Regions from separate parts of the Homo sapiens genome. Here region 2 is linked to region 1. Evidence: promoter capture Hi-C in 16 types of primary human blood cells and fetal thymus (Javierre and others, 2016). All regions are on one chromosome and are shown on one strand. The core of a region is centred on a gene start or on the middle of the fragment in contact, and the rest is flanking DNA. Distances in the headings are between cores, read along the strand shown.

What was found. The method cuts DNA at HindIII sites, captures the fragments that hold promoters and counts their contacts. A CHiCAGO score of 5 or more calls a contact.
Region 2: a contact is called between a fragment that was not itself captured here and the fragment with the promoter of BACH1-IT2 in region 1, in 1 of 17 cell types (neutrophils). The highest score is 6.5, in neutrophils.

The regions. Positions count from the first base shown.
Region 1 is chr21:29,370,106-29,376,614 of GRCh38, reverse strand. BACH1-IT2 (BACH1 intronic transcript 2) reads right to left here and starts at 4,114. Exons shown (of 2, transcript NR_046564.2): 1 at 4,052-4,114; 2 at 2,635-3,373. The HindIII fragment of the contact is 7,280 bases long and covers 1-6,509 here.
Region 2 is chr21:29,032,689-29,039,197 of GRCh38, reverse strand. USP16 (ubiquitin specific peptidase 16) reads right to left here. Exons shown (of 18, transcript NM_006447.3): 4 at 4,258-4,361; 5 at 2,824-2,927; 6 at 1,735-1,922; 7 at 768-863; 8 at 42-172. Among named protein-coding and RNA genes, the nearest start is that of USP16, 11 kb to the right of the region's middle. The HindIII fragment of the contact is 3,546 bases long and covers 554-4,099 here.

The DNA.
Region 1 (6,509 bases), core at 2,865-5,364:
TATAGAACCCACATATGTACTCCAAGAAGGAACCAGCCTGGGACGCCCACCATCAGTGAGCACCCCCACTGGGTCTATCTCAGCCAAAGAGGCAACAAGCAAGGGAAAGCTATCATCCAGAATGACGGCTTCATCCCTTTCCATCTTTCTTCCCCACTCAAAGGGAAGAGTGTCCCGAGAGAGGGGAGTAAGGAGAGAAAAAGCAGATCAAGCCTTCTCCCAACTCTAAGTCCCCATGGAGAAGCATGATCAGGGCTCTGCAGAGGTGGGAGGAGGTAAAGGGGAATCTATTGGATCTGAAATGGATTTTTAAAACTTCACTGGCTTTTTATAAATACTCAGAAGTGGATTTAAAAATTTATGAAACTCTGTGGGTACAGAGTAGAACTTCCCCACAAAATAAATAAATGTTTGCAGGGCTCAAGTTGGAAAAAATGTCCTTCTGCAGCAAAGGGTGTGGCCCTGGGGTCAGGGAAGCACAATGATGAACCAGGAGCATCTAGGAAGTGACCCGTGCCAAGGGTTTAAATTCCAGGACACTCTTTCCTTGGACTTCTGGAAAAGTAGAATGAAGCAGATAGGTTTAAATTCTTTCTCTAGGCTGGGCACAGTGGCTCACGCCTGTAATCCCAGAACTTTGAGAGGCCAAGGTGGGTGAATCACTTGAGGTCAGGAGTTCGAGACCAGCCTGACCAACATGGTGAAACCCCATCTCTACTGAAAATACAAAAATTAGCCAGGTGTGGTGGTGCACGCCTGTAGTCCCAGCTACTCGGGAGGCTGACACACGAGGATCACTTGAGCCCGGGAGGTGGAGGTTGCAGCAAGCTGAGATCATGCCACTGCACTCCAGCCTGGGTGATAGAGTGAGACTCAGTCTCAAAAAAAAAAAAAAAATTCTTTCTCTTATAGTTTCTCAAACACTGTAATAAAATTTGGTACAGCTTTAATATCAAGTTCGAAATGAGTAACAGGCTGGGTCATAAAATAAAAGAGAGAAAGGGCAGCTTCCCCATGTTCAACCTCCCTCCACCCAGTCCTCACTGCTCAGACTTTGCAGAGGTGGCAACAGTGCATCAGAAGGTGGCCTGTGCTCCAGGCCCCGACTAGAAGGAGAGTGAATAGGTACCTGCTTTAACTCAGTGTTATGGACTAAATGTTTATGTCCCTCCAGAAATCATATGTTGAAATTCTAACCTCCAATGCAATGGTATTTGGAGGAGGAGCCTTGATAGGTGATTGGGTCATGAAGGTGGATCCCTTATGTTGTAATTAGTGACCTTATAAAGGAGTCCCCAAAGAGTTCTCTCCTTCCTTCCTTCCTTCCATCCTTCCTTCCTTTCTTTCTCTCTTTTGTTGAGATGAAGTCTCACTCTGTTGCCCAGGCTGGAGTACAGTGGCATGATCTTGGCTCACCACAACCTCCACCTCCCGGGTTCAAACAATTCTCCTGCCTCAGCCTCCCAAGTAATTGGGATTACAGGCATACACCACCAGGCCCAGCAAATTTTTTGTATTTTTTAGTAGAGACGGGGTTTAACCAAGTTGGCTAGACTGGTCTTGAACTCCTGACCTCAAGTGATCCACCCGCCTCAGCCTCCCAAAGTGCTGGGATTACGGGTGTGAGCCACCGTGCCCGGCTCTTCTCTCTTTCTGAGGATACAAGAAGACGGCAGGCTGTGACCCGGAAGAGGGTCCTCATCAGCATCCGACCATGCTCACATCCTAATCTTGGAACTATGAGAAATAAATTTCTGTAATTTCTAAGCCACACAATCTATGGTACTTTGTTATAGCAGCCCAAACTGACTCAGACCCTCAGAAAAGGCTGATGGGGAAAAACCATCCTGGAAAGTAAATAGTCAAGAGGACCTTGTAAGAGCAGACATGAGAAAACTCCCCACCCCAGTAGATTCACTAGAGACGCAGCTCTCAACTCCTTGTACCAAGACCCATAGGAATGATACACTTTACATCATACCCCTATAAACATGTACATGTGTAATTGATTAAAGTTTCATAAAGTAATATTTACTCACTATGTGCAATGCACATTGATATTTCATATTCTGTTCTGTTTTTTAAATGCTGGCCACAACCCCACACAAATTGATTTCTAGACCTTAATAGTCTCTAATCAGCAGTGTAAACAACTCTCATTAGAGGGAGAGAACCCTTAAGAGGAAGGGGAAACCTTGGGTTTCACAGGCATGAACAGCAGTGTTTCTTCTCTCTGAGATATGCCTCCCATACCCACAGCCCCTTTTTTTTCATCATACTGGGATCCTATATTCCTGATTGCCTACTTTCCAGGTGAGTTATCTCCTCTGGAGTTCCCACCTCTCTACTGGATCTCTTATGTAACCACCTGATATGGTTTGGCTGTGTCCCCACCCAAATCTCATCTTGAATTGTAGCTCCCATAATTCCCATGTGTTGTGGGAGGGACCCGGTGAAAGAAAATTGAATCGGTTTCCCCCATACTGTTCTCAAGGTAGTGAATAAGTCTCACAAGATCTGACAGTTTCGTAAGGGGTTTCCCCCTTTCCTTGGCTCTCATTCTCTCTTGCCTGCTGCCATGTAAGATGTGCCTTTCACCTTCTGCCATGATTGTGAAGCCTCCCCAGCCTCATGGAACTGTGAGTCCATTAAACCTCTTCTTTCTTTATAAATTACCCACTCTCAGGTATGTTTTTATCAGCAGTTTGAAAACAGACTAATACACTATCCTCAATGCCTTTCTAATTCTACCCATTGTACATGGATTGGACTCCTCAATGCCAACTCCATTCATGAAATACTTTCCAAGCCCTTTCATACCCAGCATGTACAAATTGTCCCCAGCACCTTCTTAACAAGTATGTCTGAATAACAGAAAACTACAATAATAATGCATGTCAGAATTATATGATGTAAAGATGTGTCTGTCACTGCTACCAGCTCTATCTATACCTCTTTCTCTGTAATCCTTATAACCATCTGACACATTAGGTCACATAGCTATTTAGCGGTGGACTTGAGCTTCGAATCCAGGTGTTCTTGGGAAACTTGCAGATCATAGAGAAGCATGAACACAAAGAATAAGTGTGGCCTTCCAGTGGTGGGGGCAGGGTGTCATGAGACACAGAGCAGTGGTAGGTCTTATGCAGAGCCTCTTTAGGGTTTTACACCACTGGTAGAAGAATCTGTCTCTAGACCGAAGAGTTCAAACCGAGAGACTTCTTGCTTTCTCACAAAGACAGGCTTCTGGCCATTTAGCTGCTGGGCTTTTCATCAGCCTTGAGGAATGAGAGACCTTTGTGGAGCTCTTGTTTCTAGGCGTGAGAGCAGGGGAGAGGCTGAAAAGCATCTGACATTCCTGGCGTCCCATTCTCTAGACAAGAGGGGACACTCATAAGGGCCTAAATACCTGTCCAAAGGCTTCAGTCACAATCCCTACTCTGTAAGGAAAATCTTGGCATCATTTCATCCCATACAACTAAGAAGAAAGATATATATCATGATAGCATATGGATGTGTTAACCATCTTCCCCCATTTTCACGTTTTAAGAATTTTAGGGCCGTGCATGGTGGCTCACGCCTGTAATCCCAGCACTTTGGGAGGCTAAGGCTGGCAGATCACAAGGTCAGGAGATCGAAACCATCCTGGCCAACATGGTGAAACCCCCGTCTCTACTAAAATACAAAAAATGAGCCAGGCGAGGTGGTGTGCGCTTGTAGTCCCAGCTACTCGGGAGGCTGAGACAAGGGAATTGCTTGAACCCAGGAGGCAAAGGTTGCAGTGAGCCAAGATCATGCCACTGCACTCCAGCCTGGCGACAGAGCAAGACTCTGTCTCCAAAAAAAAAAAAAAAAATTTTAGGTCTGGGGTGAGTTGGAGTATTGCTGAGGAGAACCTTTCTCAAGGGCAGGGCTCTCGGAGATCATGTTCTCATGGGTCCCCGGGACCGGTCCTCAGGCTCGCTAGTTTAAGGTGAGTGGAGTGGTCTCTAGGAGCAGAGCATGATAACAACGCTAGGTCACTCATTTACAACGGACTGTAATAAACTACCTTTTTCCTTCCACCAGGGGGCACCATTCACATAGACTTCAACAGCAGTGGCATCAACAGGCCTACAAAGTGGTGGTGGTAAAAAACACACTTGAGACCATCATATGTATCTGAAATCAGATACGATACCTGAAAAACATAAATCAAATTAATGCTCATATGGTTGCTTGCTGTCCAAGGAATTCAAAGCAAAGGTGGAAACTGACCCTTACATCACTTCTTCCTTCTAGATGAATAGCATCAGCTACATTTTCTTTCCCATTATGTAATGTTTCTATTCTGACCACCCACCTGTGATGGACATAGTCTTTTTAGATGTGTTAGTTTTAATATTAGTCAAGACTTAGTCTCAACCGTTCTCTATTAAGTGACTTTGCAGATATCTGATGTCATCTCCATTAATGCAGATTTTCATGTCAGATTCAGCTCTGAGTTCACCTTAATGCGGTGGTGGTTCCCATAGTGTAGTGCCCAGGCCCCCGCATCAACATCACTTGGGAACTTGTTAGAAAGGCAAGTTCCTGGTTCCCAACTCAGACCTACCTACCAAGTCAGAAATCTAAGTGTGGGGCCTGCAATCTGTGTTTTTACAAGCCTAACAGGGGATACTAATGCATGCTAAAGTTTGAGAACCACTGACTTAATATACAGTTTCCAACCCGGATGACACTAGAAACAACTACGGGACTTTACAAAAATATGGGTGTCCTGGCTTCCCCCAGAGCCACTAGGGTAGTGGAAACAAATGTCACTATCAAATGGATCTGGGTTTGAATTCTGGTTTTGTCACTCACCAGCTATGTGCCTTGTGGAGGCTCCATCTTCTCATCTGTAAAGTAAAAGTCATCGGACCTGCCTTGTAGGAAGGTGTAGGAGGGGAAGGTTCAGCAAATGCCTCATAGAGAGATTGACTCATAGTACATCTTCTTCCTTGGCCTCCACCGCAACTAGAATCTTATTCACCCGGCCTGTGAGGGTACAGTTCTCACCTTGCCCCAGAATCACCAGGTGAGAATGATTTGCTAGACCCGCTTTCTGAAGTTTCACAAATGGACAAACATTTTCACAGCTGTTACTGGGATTTTGCCATAAATCAGCAGGAACACACCCGAGATCTGACAAAGCTATTTCAAACTCTAGATCAATGAGGAGGGAAGTTGCTATGAAGCCGGGTTTGCCAACTGAGAGCATTGTAATTGTTCGAGTTGCTCTTGGGATCTAGCTCAGATTCCTGCTGACACCAGAGAAGTGAAGAATGAAAATAGTTGCCTAGAAAATCAGAAGCAGCTCCCCAAGTTACCTGCCACATACAGGTTTGTTTTTCCTTAATTATCTAGGTAATTGCTTTGCTTCCTCTACCTGCCTTTACCAAGAGATGCCTGGCCAGAAGAGCGAGGAATTAAAGTACCTGTGGAGGCTGCCCACCGAGTGAAGCTGCAGGCTGCCCATCCCATCGCAGTAGCTCCTTAGTTGTCAGTAGGTTGTTTCTATGAATGCCCCCTCCATCAGAAACCAATGAGGTTTTTCCAATTAATCTAAATCCCTGCTCTTGTGGAACTGGTGCGGAGACAGTGGTTAAATGCTAAATTGTCAGCCCAAAGTCAAATCCTTTTATTTAAAAACATAATATGCAGAATGGCTTCCTAAAACAAAAATTGGGAAAATTGTTAACATAGAGACTTCCAGGTTTTGCCAAGGGTACAACTGTTTTCTTAAACACAGTTTTTAACAATTACGTACAAATCAAACCAAAGTTCATCCAACCCACTCTCTGAATTAGTCTCAGTACAATGCGCATAGACAGCTATCACTAGAGTTAGTGAATATTATGGGAAAAATTAGAGGCAAAAGTTGAGACTGGAGCCGGTGAGAGTTAACAAAAACACTATTTATATAGAGAAAAATACATTTTAGAGAAGTATAAACATACTGCTTGGCATCAACATAAAAGCCCAAGTGCAAGTCAAAGGTAACCCAAAAGGCTCATAGGTCCTCAGACTACAGAAACCCCCCTACTGATGGCAACAGAAGGTCTGGCCTTCCACATGCTACTTCCTTAGTGTTTGTGGGGGAAAAAAAAATCCCACTGTATAAATTAGAATAGGCCAGATCATGCTACAGTAACAAATAACCCCAAAGTCTCAGTAGCTTACAACCACAAAGGTTTACCTCTTTCCCACTGTATTCAGGGTTTTCCAGAGAAACAGAACCAATAAGGGATTTAATAGAGAGAGAGGGGATGAGGGGGAGAGATAGTGATATGGTTTGGCTCTGTGTCCCCACCCAAATCCCACCAGGAACTGTAATCCCCATAATCCCCATGTGTCAAGGTCAGGACCAGGTGGAGGTAATTGGATCATGGGTGCAGTTCCCCCAAGCTGTTCTTGTGATAGTGAGTTCTCACGATATCTCATGGTTTTATAAGCATCTGGCATTTCCCCAGCTTGCACTCTATCCT
Region 2 (6,509 bases), core at 1,077-3,576, 340 kb after region 1:
CTCACTGAGGCACTGAAAGCACAATCGAAGTGGATACTCACTTTTTACAGACCTGAGAAAAGAGTTCTTTCGGTGTCACAACCCCCTTTTTGGTCTCTTGCATCTCATTAAGAAACTGGCTCATGGCTAAAGTAAGAGGGCCTGGAGGCTCAAGGTTTATTTCTAATGGTTCCTGAATATGGGAAAAGAAATTACTTTCTTCAGTCAAATTCTGGAATCACTGACTTTACTAAAATCTAATTAGTTAACATATACTACCAATGTTCCTGACAGAACTGCCCCATTTAAAAGTTTAAAATGTACATCAAAAGAGATAGAAACTGTTTGGTCACAGACTGTCTTATGCAGAATTCAGCTCTACTATTTTAGTTTTAGATTATCTGGAACACTTACTACCTAAGAATTGAAAGAGCCAAAGCAAAATGTAAATAATAAAAATGGATAAGGTAATATTTATTTGGTTACACAGCTCTTAAGTCACCTTAAAGATGTTAAAAATAATAATGTAAGCCTAAGGCTTCTCAAACATATACACATTCCCAAGAAGGAAGCTTAACACTCGAGCATAGAAAAACAGAGCACACACACAGCAAACAGATGTAATGCCTCCTTATAACTTCTATTAGCCTGAAACTGTTTAAGTTAGTAGCCTAAAGTAAAACAAAACAAACAAAAACAGTGGAAATGAGTGTCAGTTATTTAAAATAATTTAGAAAACACACATTCAGAGAGGAAAGTTACAGACTAGAAAAGTTTAAAGAACATACTGTTAATGCCAAATCAGGTGGTTCAATTTTTACAATTGTTCCAGACATTTTCACTTCTTTTAGTAGTTCTCTAAGCACTGGTGTTTGTGACAAGTTCTAGAATGTAGGGTGAAAAAAAAAGAGAAAAATTATTTAAAGGCAAATCAACTCTGACACTTCTTAAGTGTCTATTCTATCAAAACAGAAAATCATGACCAACACTGAAAACTCTATACTTGGAAAATGAAAAGTTACAGATGCTTCTCTCCCTACTCTATTTGGGTCATAACTACTTCAGTTCTGAGCTTATTCATCACCTCAGTGGGGCATTCTCCCACCACCCAATCAGAAGTAGCTATCCCCAATCCTCCACCATGACTCTCTCACAACCACTTACCACTACCTGTAGGTACGTATTTGCTTCTATATGAGGTTATCCTGTGTTTCCTCCACCCAAGTGCAAGCTCCATGAAAGAAGCAGCAATATTTCTTTCAAACCCACTGCACCCGAGTGCTCACCAAACTCTCTTACTGTCATGCAATAAAACTTTCCTTAAGTTTTCTTTGGCCAGGCATGGTGGCTCACGCCTGTAATCCAAACACTTTGGGTGGCCAAAGGGGGTGGACGGCTTAAGCCCAGGAGTTCAAGACTAGCCTAGGCAACATGGCGAAACCCTGTCTCTACAAAAGATACAAAAACTAGCTGGGAGTGGTGGCGCATGCCTGTAGTCCCAGCTACTCTGGAGGCTAAGGTAGGAGGACTGCTTGAGCCCAAGAGGTAGAGGCTGCAGTGAGCCACGATCGTGCCACTGCACTCCAGCCGAGTGACAGAGTGAGACCCTGTCTCAAAAAAAAAAAAAAAAAAAAAAAAAGTTTTCTTTGGATACATAGAAATAAATTACTCAGGTGGAAAAAACTCAATAATGTAAGTAGCAGATTCTATGAGGAAAAGGACAGCTTTTTTAAAGGGAAAAAAATGACAATGTACCTGCATAACTGCATTGAAGAAACATGTGTTTCCCAAATTACTGAGTCCTTTCACGGTTATTTGGCAAGGAGAATTCATGGGAGGATTCTCTTTAGCCATGTTTTCCTTCTTTTCTCTCTCTTGTTCATTCTTACTCTCTTTTTCTAATTTTTTATTTTCAAGTTCAATATTTCCATTATCTTTCTCTGCTTTAAAAAAAGAAAAGATTTAGCAAAATGTGTAATACAGTCATATCGAATGCAGAAGTATACTTGGGAAACAGTACTAGAGTTTGTGAGTTTACCTGAAGTCATTCTTTCCAACCCACCCACCCATTTGATTTTAAATAGATACAGGTAAATTGCCATCCAGAAAAAAAACACAAAACCCAGTAAACAAAAAATACTCAGACCTAAAGTAAGCATTAGTTTGATAAATGAAACCAAACAGTATGTGCTTTGGTATAAATCTCCCTTTTTTACTGCACGAAAATTCTTTACAAATGAACACATCTTACCTTGTGAAATTAAGAATATAAAACAATCAAGAACATGGACATGAAATAAATTTTTTAATGAATTCTGTGGGTCAAAAATCAATCCTAAAGTAAAAAACAAATAATTCTGGCTCTGACAAAGATACTTGTGACAATAAAAACTTAAAAAACATGCTTAAAGCAAATGCTGTATGTCAGCCAATTAATTTAATTATGCATGGAAAGAACCTAAGAAATATCTGACCATTAGAAGGAATCACAAATGCTTTATGTTATCCCAGCAGACAGACTGAAATCTTGCTATTACAAAATGTACGACAGTAAGAACAGTGTAAGGCAGGTCTATAGTAAGCCTGGCTAGGGTTATGGGAATTACCTTAGTCTTAGCATTAATGGCCATTACCTTAGTCTATGGCCTTCATCACATCTGACTAGATCATTTCTCATATCCCTTCTAATACCTTATAGTTAAACCAAAAATAGTTTCATAGTTTGCAATCAACCATAACTAATGTTACTCAGCTGTATGTAATGCTAGGTAGTATAACAAATCTAAGTATCAGCAGATACACAAATCGACATTTGGTGTATATTAAAGAAACAAATTATTTTACCTGGCTTTGGAGTTGTAATGCTGGCTTGTTTTCTGACATAATCAACCACTTGACCCAACTGGTTTGAACTACAATACTGGACCTCATTATCACATACGTAACACCTGTGACCCAAAAATCAGAGATGAAAAATGACAAAATGACAACTAAAAAGGGGGAGACAAATAATAATTCCTGGAATCAAAGTGTGTAACTGCCAACTTATTCTATTAAAGAAACCGAACGTAAAAATTCTGTTTTCCTGAAGAAGACTATGCATATTAACTCTGGTTTATTATTAATAAAATTAGCCAGAATTATGGCTGCATATAAGTAGTATGATGAAATACTCCAAACGTTTTACTTTACTGGTTATAACATTGAAGTCAAAAGATTGTTTACATATATTTTAAAATACAGAATAACACTAACAAAAATAACAACTTTTTTTTGTTTGTTTTGTTTTTTGGTTTTTTTTGAGACGGAGTCTCGCTCTGTTGCCCAGGCTGCGTGCAGTGGCAGGATCTCGGCTCACTGCAACCTCCAGCTCCCTGGTTCATGCCATTCTCCTACCTCAGCCTCCCGAGTAGCTGGGACTACAGGCACCCACCACCATGCCCAGCTACTTTTTTTTTGTATTTTTAGTAGAGATGGGGTTTCAACGTGTTAGCCAGACAAAAGTAACAACTTTTACAATTGAAAGATGCCATTCAAGCCAGGCACGGTGGCTCATGCCTGTAATCCCAGCACTTTGGGAGGCTGAGGCATGCGGATCACAAGGGGATCACGAGGTCAGGAGTTTGAGACCAGCCTGACCAACATGGTGAAACCCCGTCTCTACTAAAAATACAAAAATTAGCCGGGCGTGGTGGTGCATCCCTGTAATCTCAGCTACTCGGGAGGCTGAGGCAGGAGAATTGCTTGAACCTGGGAGGCGGAGGTTGTGGTGAGCCGAGATCACACCACTGCACTCCAGCCTGGGCGACAGAAAGATTCCGTCTCAAAAAAAAAAAAAAGATGTCATTCAGTGAAGACTACTGTGAAAATGATTTTTAAGACGTAAAAATCTGTTTTAATGATGTTACAATGCAGCATCTATAACATACCAGACTGACATTTATTTTCATGCAAATTCATAGCCAAAATTTTATTACAATTTTATCTGAAATTTGTTCTTAGCGTCCCTATCTCCACTATATGCCTTATAATATCACAAGCAAGAAAAACAAAGGGGTAAAGATTCTTAAGTCTTCTATGTTACAATGTTTGTGCTTGTGCAAACGTCCAAGTAAAAGCTTCTCATAATACTGCATTCTTTAGCTTTGTGAAAGTGATGGTATTTTAAAACATACTACAAAAATTTTAAATTGCTTTCTTCTTAAACATATTTAAACATTTCCATTCTCTAATATTTCAAATAATTTCCACCCAAGAGGCAGAGGAACTGAAACTCACCATACACTCCAGTTGTCCAAACTAAGAACCAGACAGTGAGGTTCAGATCTTGGCGTCAGATAGTGCTTCAAGGCATGCTGCTCCTGAGAATTTCTGCCACAGCCCTAAAAAAATCATAATCATAAACCTCAAAGCCATAAAAACTCAGCAAGAGGGGAGAATGCATAATCTATCATAAACAAGGAAGTGGCTCATGAAATTCTGCCATTCTTACAATCTTGAAAAGAAAATGTTAGACTCTAGAATCAATATTTTGTTAAAACTTACATATGCACAGGCAACTGAGAACATTTAAGTCAACAAGTATTTAGAAAACCATGCACTCGCTAGGCGCGGTGGCTCACACCTGTAATCCCAGCACTTTGGGAGGCTGAGGCCAGGGGTGGGATCACCTGAGGTCAGGAGTTCGAGACCAGCCTGACCAACATGGTGAAACCCCATCTCTACTAAAAATACAAAAATTAGCCGGGTGTGGTGGCGCACATCTGTAATCCCAGCTAATTAGGAGGCTGAGGCAGGAGAACTGCTTGAACTCAGGAGGCGGAGGTTGCAGTGAGCCAAGATCACGTCTGGGCCTGCACTCTAGCCTGGGCAACAAGAGCAAAAACTCCATCTCAAAATAAAAAAAAAAAAAAAAAGAAAACCATGCACTCAAAGTACTCTTCTTGTCCAACTTTCCAGCCCAGATTAAACCACACTAATGCAGTCAAGTCTGGTTTGGATTCCTTAACAGTCTCCTAAACATTCCCCTAACTTCAGCCTCCTTCTTCACATGCATATTCTTTCAGTTTAGTGTTCCTAAAACAAAGCTCTGTTCATACACCATTCAAAAATTATGAATTGCACTCTTAAACTCCTAATAAACAAACCTGACATCCTCTGACCCCGACATATCTCTCCAGTGTTAACTCCCACATTCTCTTATTCACATACCAACGACCAGCTAAAAACACACTGAGCGCTTTTCACAACTATGCAATTTTGTTCACATTATTCTATTTATCCAGAATCCTTTATGAACACTGCTACCTAACCAAATCCCACCCACTCTTCAAGATCTTGCTCAAAAGCCACCTCCTCCCAGAAGCCTATACTTATCTCCCAGATGAGAAAATACTGTCTCCTTCCTTTAAACAAATTCTATAAAACATGGCATGAATTCCTAGTGGCATTCCTTATTTTTTACCTTGTACTAACGTTATTGATATTTATATCCTTTCTCACCTGGTCTATAAATCCCAAAGGCTCAAGGCAGTAGACTTAATCTATTACCAAATATTCTAGAACACAGGAGGTGGTCAAAAAACACTATTTAAACAAGTAAATGGGAGACTTTTACCTAAAAGATGTATAGGCTTATTCATAAAAGAACATGACCTAAACTTCTGCTTTCAGCTAGTCAGATCACTGCTGAGAAACATATCTTCACTGTGTATCTACTGGAACCAGTCTATCAACTTTTGGATCACAGTACAACAACCGGTCGTGTTTCCATTGCCGCTAAATATATACTTTGGAGAAGAAATATACATTGGTAATTTCTAATTCCTTAACTATGATCCCAAACACTATTCGCTTAATTTATCCCACTGAACATTTAATTACAAAATAAATGAATTAACATTTGATACTATTTTTGAAAATTACAACATCATTTGAGATCATTTGAAACATAGTTGTCTTGAGACAACAGTTAAGAATCATTAGCTAACAGTGCCAAAGGTATCTAGTGGGAAAAAAGTTAGCAGTTAATACTGACATGTCTTATTCTTACAAATTAAAAAGGTAGCACAAAAATTTGTAACACAAAATATATTCTGAAAAACTGAAATAGCAAAGCATATTCATACTCACCATATGTATTTAAAAGGTTACAATTAAACCTTTCAAATACAAGTAAACAGTATCTTTTCTAACATACAGATTTTTTTAACTGACCACAATGAGATATCAGTATATAACTATCATGATGGCTAAAATAAAAAACTGTGACAATTGTAAATGCTGGCAAAAATGAAGAAAAAGTGAAAGTGAATCATTCATACACTGCTAGTAAGAATATAAAAGGTAGAGTCACTGTGAAAAAACAGTTTGGCAGTTTGGCAGTTTCTTAAAAAACTAAACATTAAATTGCCATAGGACCCAGCAATTGCACTCTTGGGCATTTATCCTAGAGAAATGAAATCTAAGTTCACACAAAAACCTGTACACAAATGTTAACAGCAGCTTTATTTGTAATCACCAAAAAATGG